Linked DNA regions of Homo sapiens: region 1 is linked to region 2. The links are contacts of gene promoters, found by promoter capture Hi-C in human tissues and cell types (Jung and others, 2019). All regions are on one chromosome and are shown on one strand. The core of a region is centred on a gene start or on the middle of the fragment in contact, and the rest is flanking DNA. Distances in the headings are between cores, read along the strand shown. Region 1 has its middle 31 kb from the start of CASC8. Region 2 holds the start of POU5F1B (POU class 5 homeobox 1B).

Evidence for each region. The method cuts DNA at HindIII sites, captures the fragments that hold promoters and counts their contacts. A contact is called where the count stands out against the background at its distance.
Region 1: a fragment that was not itself captured here is called in contact with the fragment with the promoter of POU5F1B in region 2 in 3 of the 25 tissues and cell types used here (lymphoblastoid cells, small bowel and thymus).

What each region holds. Positions count from the first base shown.
Region 1 is chr8:127,510,366-127,515,006 of GRCh38, reverse strand. No RefSeq gene overlaps it. Among named protein-coding and RNA genes, the nearest start is that of CASC8, 31 kb to the right of the region's middle. The HindIII fragment of the contact is 3,582 bases long and covers 551-4,132 here.
Region 2 is chr8:127,414,101-127,419,276 of GRCh38, reverse strand. It overlaps POU5F1B (POU class 5 homeobox 1B), which reads right to left and starts at 3,410. Exons shown (of 1, transcript NM_001159542.3): 1 at 2,331-3,410. The coding sequence starts at 3,410. The coding sequence ends at 2,331. All of the region lies in intron 5 of CASC8 (cancer susceptibility 8), which reads left to right. The HindIII fragment of the contact is 11,415 bases long and covers 700-5,176 here.

The DNA.
Region 1 (4,641 bases), core at 1,092-3,591, 97 kb before region 2:
TAGGAACAAAAATAAAAAATTGTCCTTCTTGGTCAAGTGGTTCCATTAGCAGAGGGTCCCATCAGGAGAGAGAGCTTTGGCACTGTCCCACGTGGGCATCCTTCCCATGGCAATTCTTTTTATATCAATAACTTCCTAGTCCTCTTTTCCTCTAAGGTGGAGAAGATATCAATGAGGTTTTTGGAGGTGAGAGAACAACACAAACCCTGATCCACTGTGTAAACCCAAATCAAGAAATTATCTTGCTCTTTCCATCCTCTCCTGAATATGTTGATTGTTTCCTCTCTTGCTTGATAAATATTGGCTGTCCAGATTGCGTTTGGAGAAGATACGGGCCTGGGAAATGTGAAACATAGCACAGATGCAGGCACGGTTTCTTTTGTAGGCAGATGTCCCAGGGCCGGGGGTCAATTTAGGGGGATTATTCAAGGGTGTTTCATGTGCCGTCATTCTTTTCTCTTGTCCAGCTGCTTTTCCCCAATGGCTGCTAGGACGATGACTATGAGTGGTAACCTTGACTTGCCTGAAATGGAAAGGTCATTGAGAGGTCTGTCATGACCAGTCTTAAGCTCTGCCCCCCTCATTCATGCAGGGGAGGAAAAGCTGGAATCTCAACTAACAGTCTGATCAATGGAGACATTTGTGACCCAGTTCTGACCATGTCTTTCCTGGAAGCCAAATCCTTCAAAGGCTTACTACTTCCAATGGATAAAGTCCAAGTTCCTTGGCATAGCATAGAAAACCTTTCATATCCTCCCTCCATCTTTTGCTTCATTTCTGTTTGCATCCACAGTTGGCTTCTAGGTGCCACTCACTTTGAACTACATTAGGCCTTTGCACTTGTTGTACATAGAAAGCAGCTTCATCTCCTTCCTCAGCATCATGATCTTTTCTTCCTTGCTGGAAACCCTTCCTATGGACCCTTTTCCTGACAGCCTACTTCTTCTCAAGCTGAGTGGTTTCCTCCCTACTTTGCTTTATGTGTGAACTTGGCACTGCCGTTTGCATCCCATCTTTCCTTCTAGTCTATGGGCCTTAATCTCCCTCATCTCTGGATTCCTCTGCGCACAACAGGCACTAAATACATTTTTTTTCATTGAGTAAGTGAATGAGTGATGTCAGACCTTTGTAAAATATTTTATTTATTTAATATATTTTTTTCTCTATTATCTAAATTTTATGTTCATAATAAGCCCACAGGTGGGATTATTTCCCCCATTTTGGACATTAGAAATTTAAAGACCACAGTGGCATTGTGACTCTCTAATTTGGCAGACTGGTGACCAGCATACAGTTCTTAAGTCTTAGGCAGTTGAAGCCAGAAGAGAGCTTGGTTGATTAAACATGCCAGTAGTGTTCTTATTGTTCATGTGCCACATTGATTGCCACTGTCGAGTTCTTTGATTGGTTTTGAATTATGCTTATGTAGAGAAAAATTTTAGGCTATTTGCATGGATCCTTATTGCCTGCAGAGAAAGTTCTAACACCTTAGCAAGGCATTCAAAATTCTGGCCCTGATATAGAATGTCAGCTTTATCTTTAGCCACTTAGCATCCATATTGCAATACTCCTTTACTATAGACTAGGGTGGCAAACCTTTTCTGTTAAGGGCTAGATAGTTAATATTTTGGGTTTTGTGAGCTAGATAATCTTTCTTGCAACAACCCTGCAACTATGGTTTGAAAGCAGGCATAGATATTACTTAAATGAATAGGTGTGGCTGTGATTTAACAAAGCTTTATTTATAGAAACAGTATACTGAATTTGTCTCAGGGTCATAGTTTACCAATCCCTGTTATAAATCATTTCTGAAAATATCATGGATTATTTCCTTTTTCCCTTTCCTCAGTTCCCTGTCCTTATCTATGTTTCTCACATCTATCTCGTTTCCTTCCTACCTTTCTTTCACCTTTTTAAGGTGTGTTCAACAGGTATCCATCCCTGTGAGTCATCCTTAAATCACTGCAACTGCCCTGTTGCTGGGTCTAGGCATCATACAAAGGGAAACTCCATTAACGAATCTCATTGTTCATGGTCTTAGTTTCAAATCTTTTGCCCCAAATCAATCTTCACACTGTATTCCACTTTGTTTTTAATTTTCTTTCTGATGTCCTGGCTCATTTTTCTTCTATCAGTTTATCCTCCTTCATCCTTTAGAATTGATGGCTCTTCTCACCTTCACAGTGATGATTCTGAGTTCCCCTTTGTAGGATCAGAGTCAGGCCCCTCCGGCTCTGCTGCCTCGGGCCACCTCAGGTGAATCTCTGCTTAGTTTTATCTGGTGCTGTGATGCCCTAATTTGGTGCCATTTTTTCACCATTTTCTAGCTAACCTGTCTGCCTGATTGCCATGGCCTTGCCAGTTGAAATCAAACAATGTGTGCCTGATCCCATGCCAGATTCTAAGAGGATAGAGGGGTTGACATAGTCTGTGTTCTTATTCTGTAGCCCAGTCTAGCAAATAAGTGATACAACTAATTCTAATATCATACGAGAAGGGAGCATCTCTGGGGAGCCATATTTGAGAGTGATGACTCCAAGATGAAAGAGTATGGTAAAAGATGGTTTCAGTTCCAACATCTGAGTTTTACTTCCTTGTTGAAAAAATTGCTACAGTTCCTGTTGTCTCCTATGCCACTTCCAGCTTCCACCACCTCTCCTTCAATGTCTTCAGTTGCCTCTCATTGGTTTGCTAGCCCATTGAATTATACTTCTCAATAGTCCCCAATGTAAATTTCTTCCTCAGGTACCTGAGCCATTTTAGTGTTCCCTGCATACAGCGTGCCAGTTGCTACCTACATGCCCAACACCCAGCATCTTATGTCACCTCGAAAGGTCATGTAACCAGCCTGAATTTAAAAAACTTTAAATATTTGGCTGGGCACAGTGGCTCACGCCTGTAATCCCAGCACTTTGGGAGGCCGAGGCAGGCGGATGACAAGGTCAGGAGATCGAGACCATCCTGGCTAACACAGTGAAACCCCGTCTCTACTAAAAAATACAAAAAATTAGCCGGACGTGGTGGCGGCCGCCTGGTAGTCCCGGCTACTCGGGAGGCTGAGGCAGGAGAATGGTGTGAACCCGGGAGGCAGAGCTTGCAGTGAGCCGAGACTGCGCCACTGCACTCCAGCCTGGGCGACAGAGTGAGACTCCGTCTCAAAAAAACACAAAAACAAAAACAAAAAAAAAACTTTAAATATTTACTAAAACACCATATCTAAAACTTTTTGTCTTGTTCTTGCCACTTAATAAGTCCTCGATAAATACCCATTTCTTCCTGCTCACAACTCTTTTCTTTCTTTCTACCTGTCTAAATCCTAACCACGCTCCAAGACAAGCTTAACTTTTTCTTCCTTCGTGAAGATTTCTAGCCAATGTAGCCAACACTGACTTTTCTTCCTATTCTTAAGAAGCTACGAAACAAAGGCTTAAAGCATAATACATCTAATTCTTGACTATATTCTGCTGTGTATGCTATTTTATTGCTTCCTATTTAGACAGACTTGCTCTGTCCGTGGGTAGCTATGTGATCTTGGAGAAGTTACTTAATTTCTCTGAGCCTCTAATGCCTCATTGGTAAAATGAGACTAATAAGTTTTCTCCTACCTAACACAGAGTTCACCTTTCAGTCACTTTCTGTCACATGTTAGAAAATGCGTTATCATGTTCTCACTCATAGGTGGGAATTGAACAATGAGAACACTTGGACACAGGAAGGGGAATATCACACACCGGGGCCTGTCATGAGGTGGGGGGAGGGGGAGGGATAGCATTAGGAGATATGCCTAATGTAAATGACAAGTTAATGAGTGCAGCACACCAACGTGGCACATGTATACATATGAAACAAACCTGCACATTTTGCACATGTTCCCTAGAACTTAAAGTATAACAAACTTGCACATTTTGCACATGTACCCTAGAACTTAAAGTATAATTTAAAAAAAAAATAAAGAAAAAGAAAATGCGTTATCTAGTGCGGTTACTTTTTTTTTTTTTTTTTTGTCTGTTGTCTTTCTTCTCTCACCAGCAAGCAATAATTGACATGAGGCTGAAGATCTCATCTGGTGTGTTCAGTGCTATATCCCCAGTGCCTAGAAGGTGTGATTAAATATTAGTTGAATAAAAGATTGTAAGTCACTTGCAGGTGAGTTTTGAACATTAACTGAGATGTAGTTAAATGATTGGCCAGTACATGGTCACTGATGAGATTTCAATAAATGTGAATTTCCATAACACAACCATTGCTACCTATTTCTGTCACCACCATTGCTACTACTATTACTACTGTTGACTAAGGCAGATGGAACACTCTCCCCTTCTAAGGCAATGATGCTGGTAAGAGCAAATCTACCTACAGTGGAAGTGATCTCCTTGGAGCTGCCAGACTCTGAGAGTGAGCTGTGTGGGCCTCTCAGTGAATACAAATACTAATAAACAAATGCAAACACCAACAAATGATGTGATTAAACAGCATCTGGAAGGATAAGGAGAGTTAGAGTAGTCATGATTTCATTTAGTGAGTTTCTACCTTCTTATTTCTCTGTTCTTCATTATTCTGAGACCAAATGACCATTTGGATGTAAATTCGAATTGATTGCTCAGCAAATTGGCCAAAAGGTTAGACCCTCCTCTTAGCCTA
Region 2 (5,176 bases), core at 2,161-4,660:
TTATACTAGAGCTAAAAATGAAGCTGATAAGGTGCCCCAGGTCCAAAAAAGTTCAGTCCTCCTAGGCAACAAAGTGTCCTTCTTATTCTAATTGATGCCCTTTTTATTTTAAGTGTGACTGAAACATTTTTCTAGGGTAAATTGAGTTCACAGGTGTCGAGTCTATTCCCTGTGATTCCTCAGTGGTAGGATGGGAGGAGAAAAAAAAAATCACATTGAAACATACCTTTTGCATAGAGCAATGTAAAAAACACACATCCAAAGATGCAAATGCCAAGAACAGAAGAGCCTCAATTTCTGGGAATCCTTTGGCTGGATTCTGTTACTTTTTCTATTTTTCCATGTGCGACATACGGCACCCTCCTTTTTCTGAGTATTTCTGGAATAACTTGTCATTTGGGGAGTCTGGGATCCAGAATCACTTGGGTTAGAGCAGAACAGTCATGAGTCTAAACTCCAGCCCTCTCTTTTACTTTGGAGAGTTACTTGACAAATCTTTTGCACCTATGGAATAAACATCATAGTCACTTATCTCAGAGTTTGCTTAAAGATTAGAAAAATAATATAAATGAAGTCCTTAATAGATGTGCTTAAGAAAGAATGTTCACTAGTGGTATCAATTATTGTTGGAAAGGCACAATTATCACATTTTCGATCTAGGAAAAAGTCTAAGGCAATGTAATCCATTGCTTTCATTTCATGTCTAAAGAAACTGAGGCTTAGGAAGGGAGTTAGGACTAATCAAAGGTCACCCCATTAGTTTGTAGAACCCAGGTTTCTTGATCTCCACTGGGATTTCCTAGCCATAGAAACACCATTGTATATAAAAGTGTCACCAATGAGCAAATAGCAGAAAGCCAAGCCATGAATAAATTTATGACAGTCTTCTAACTTAGATGCCATCTGCAGAAAACTGGAAATTTGGGCAAGTCTCCTAACTACCACTGGTATGCCTAATCATTAATCCCTGTTGGGTTTCAGAATGCCCTGGAGATTTTGTTGTCATTTGATTCATCAATCGGAAAATGAGTCTCAGTTTTTGGCGATGCAGTTTCATAGCAAATTTGGAAAGATGTGATTATTACCCTCTATTTCATGTCCTTCCAAGGAGCTGGTCCAGGGTAAATAGGTGCACATCTTTGAATCAAGAGTCATGAATAGGTGCATTATTACTGAGTGGACTTAAGTTCCTAATGTTCACTATGAATAATGAGTCTAATGTGAAATCTTAATGCATTTAAGGTAGATATGATGTTCTTTTAAAAATGAATTTTCAGGGCCGGGCGTGGTGGTTCACGCCTACAATCCCAATACTTTGGGAGGCCAAGGCAGGCAGATCACCTGAGGTCAAGAGTTCGAGACCAGCCTGGCCAACATGGTGAAACCCCATCTCTACTAAAAATACAAAAATTAGCCGGGCGTGGTAGTGGGCGCCTGTAATCCCAGCTACTCAGGAGGTTGAGGCAGGAGAATTACTTGAACCTGGGAGGCAGAGGTTGCAGTGAGCCGAGATCACACCACTGCACTCCAGCCTGAGCTATAAAGGAAGGCACTACCTCAAAAAAAGAAAAAAAATTATCCGGGCCAGGTGCAATGGCTCATGCCTGTAATCCCAGTACTTTGGGAGGCCCAGGCAGGAGGATCCCTTGAGCTCAGGAGTTTGAGACCAGCCTAGACAATATGGCAAAACCCCATCTCCACCAAAAATACAAAAATTAGCCAGTCTCATAACCTGGTCTCAAAATAAATAAGTAAATAAATAAAATTTTAAAAAATTAAATTAAAAAATGAATTATCTGTATCATGGGGAATGGTTAATGCTCACATTTTTGTGGAATATGTGAGGGAATGGTGAGGGCCGAACTATGCCGTTAGCGGTCAAAAGAGGTTTTGTATCAGGACAAATAGGATGTCTTGAAGAAAAACTACAGCTACCATCAAGTAGCACTCTAGGAAAAGGTAAAAAGGAGGAAAAAAGCAAGTATTTATTGAATACCTACTACGTGCCACACATTTTACCACACTTAAAAAATTATTACTCAATTATGTTACTTTTCTTTTCTTTCTTTTTTTTTTTTTTTTACTGTGTCCCAGGCTTCTTTATTTAAGAAAAAAGTGATACATGATGTGGGATTAAAATCAAGAGCATCATTGAACTTCACCTTCCCTCCAACCAGTTGCCCCAAACTCCCCTGCCCCCACCCTTAGTGTTCCCAATTCCTTCCTTAGTGAATGAAGAACTTAATCCCAAAAGCCCTGCCACAAACTCCAGGTTCTCTTTCCCTAGCTCCTCCCCTCCCCTGTTCCCCATTCCTAGAAGGGCAGGCACCTCAGTTTGAATGCATGGGAGAGCCCAGAGTGATGACGGAGACTGGGGGAAAGACTTCCCCCTCAGGGAAAGGGACTGAGGAGTACAGTGCAGTGAAGTGAGGGCTCCCATAGCCTGGGGTACCAAAATGGGGCCCTGGGGCCGGAGGAAAGGACACTGGTCCCCCTGAGAAAGGAGACCCAGCAGCCTCAAAATCCTCTCGTTGTGCATAGTCGCTGCTTGATCGCTTGCCCTTCTGGCGCCGGTTACAGAACCACACTCGGACCACATCCTTCTCGAGCCCAAGCTGCTGGGCGATGTGGCTGATCTGCAGTGTGGGTTTCGGGCACTGCAGGAACAAATTCTCCAGGTTGCCTCTCACTCGGTTCTCGATACTGGTTCGCTTTCTCTTTCGGGCCTGCATGAGGGTTTCTGCTTTGCATATCTCCTGAAGATTTTCATTGTTGTCAGCTTCCTCCACCCACTTCTGCAGCAAGGGCCGCAGCTTACACATGTTCTTGAAGCTAAGCTGCAGAGCCTCAAAGCGGCAGATGGTCTTTTGGCTGAACACCTTCCCAAATAGAACCCCCAGGATGAGCCCCACATCGGCCTGTGTATATCCCAGGGTGATCCTCTTCTGCTTCAGGAGCTTGGCAAATTGCTCGAGTTCTTTCTGCAGAGCTTTGATGTCCTGGGACTTCTCCGGGTTTTGCTCTAGCTTCTCCTTCTCCAGCTTCACGGCACCAGGGGGGACGGTGCAGGGTTCCGGGGAGGCCCCATTGGAGTTGCTCTCCACCCCGACTCCTGCTTCGCTCTCAGGCTGAGAGGTCTCCAAGCCGCCTTGGGGCACTAGCCCCACTCCAACCTGAGGCCCACAGTACGCCATCCCCCCACATAACTCATACGGCGGGGGGCAAGGGGGAATCCCCCACACCTCAGAGCCTGGCCCAACCCCCGGCCCGATTCCTGGCCCTCCAGGAGGGCCTTGGAAGCTTAGCCAGGTCAGAGGATCAACCCAGCCCGGCTCCGCCCCCCATGGCCCATCACCCCCACCGCCTGGAGGGGGCGAGAAGGCGAAATCCGAAGCCAGGTGTCCCGCCATGGGGAAGGAAGGCGCCCCAAGCCGGGGGCCTGGTGAAATGAGCAATTATGTTACTTTTCATTGAAAGCTCTGTGACCGTATGGCTGTGTGTGTCATACGCTCACTAGCAATGAACACAGTGCCTGAAGCATCATTAAATGTTGACTGAATGTGTTAGGAACTCTTCAAAAGTAATCTCTTTAAATCATAATCACCTGTGAATTGACAATTATTATCTTCACTTTGTGGATAAGAATGCCAAGATTTGGAAATGTTGAATAATGTGTCCATTGTGTCAGTGGCCGATCTGAAATTCCAGTGTAGGCACCATGATTCCTGAGTCCATTCTGCTTCTGCCATACCATGATGCTAGATTCTTCATGGGAGCCATCTACTTGTGTTCTGTGCTATGGAATGGTGTGTCCTTCTTTCTGATTCTTATTTCCTGCAGATTGTGGGGAAACGGTTCTACCATTAACAACCAAAGGCAAAATGGGCTGCAACCAAAGAAATTCCCTGACCTAATTCTTTATAGTTGGTGACAAGTGTGCTGTAGTGACGGGAAATAGCACTCTATGAAGATTTAATAGTGCAAATTCTACCCTCCTGACAACCCCTTTCTTCAGCACTGGATGGGTGTATTAGTTGTTTATCATTGTGTAATAGATCACCTCAAAACTTAATAGCTTAAAAACAACTAACACATAGCTCACAGTTTTGTAAAATAGCAATTGTGGTGTGGCTTAACTGGGTATCCTGGATAAGGGTATTTCATGAGGTTGTGGTCAAGATGAGAGCAGGGGATGTTGTCATCTGGGAGCCTAACGGGGGCTGGAGGATCCACTTTCCAAAATGTCTCACTTACTTGGCTGTTGGCAAAGGCCCCGGTTTCTTGTTGGCTGTTGGTAGGAGGCCTCAGTTGCTCACCATGTGGGCTTTTCCATAAAGCTGCTTGAGTGTCCTCACAACATGTCAGCTGGATTCACCCAGAGAGAATGACCTAAGAAAGAGAGAGCAGGGAAGAAGCCACTGCGTTCTTTATGACCTAGTCTCTGAAATCGCACACTTTTACTTGTGCCATATTTTATTCATTAGAAGTGAGTCACATTCTGTAGGAGGGTAATTAGCCTTCACCATTTGGCAGGAGGACTATCAAATAATTGGTGGGCATATTGTAAAGCTATCATAATGGTTCTGGTAGGCCATGTTTTTGCCTCTGCCACTCAAATATTGGATGTCCATTTCTTAAAGGGATTGTGAAAAGAGAAGGGGCTTTAGAATAAGACAGGCAAATGTTTAAACATTGAGTAAATTTTTAATGTCCTTAACCCTTGTTTCTCAACCATAAAATGAGAATGATCATATCAAATCTTCACAGTTTTGCAGGATGGGTTGCAGGTAATAAAGTCCTAGTGCAATGTCTGGCACAAGGTAAGTGTTTAAGCAGTGGGCTCCTTTCTGTTACATAATGTGGCAACCCTCTTCTCCCCTCTCTACCTCTCAAATATGTGTCTGAGTCAGAACACCAAAGTCACACACACACAGGTACAAAACAATTCCTGATTCTATTCCATTTCCATCATGCCATGCTGCCAGTTTCTCCATGGGGCCATCTTTACTTCTGTAGTAAGGAATATAGTTACTTGTTACAGAAATTAGATTCCAGAATTGGGATATGAGTTGGAAAGGGAACTTAAACGTTCTCCTTCAGTCTTGCTCAAATTCTCATGCTTATTTGACGTTCTTGAGTGTTTCCAATAAGATAGATATGACTTTACCTCTAGATT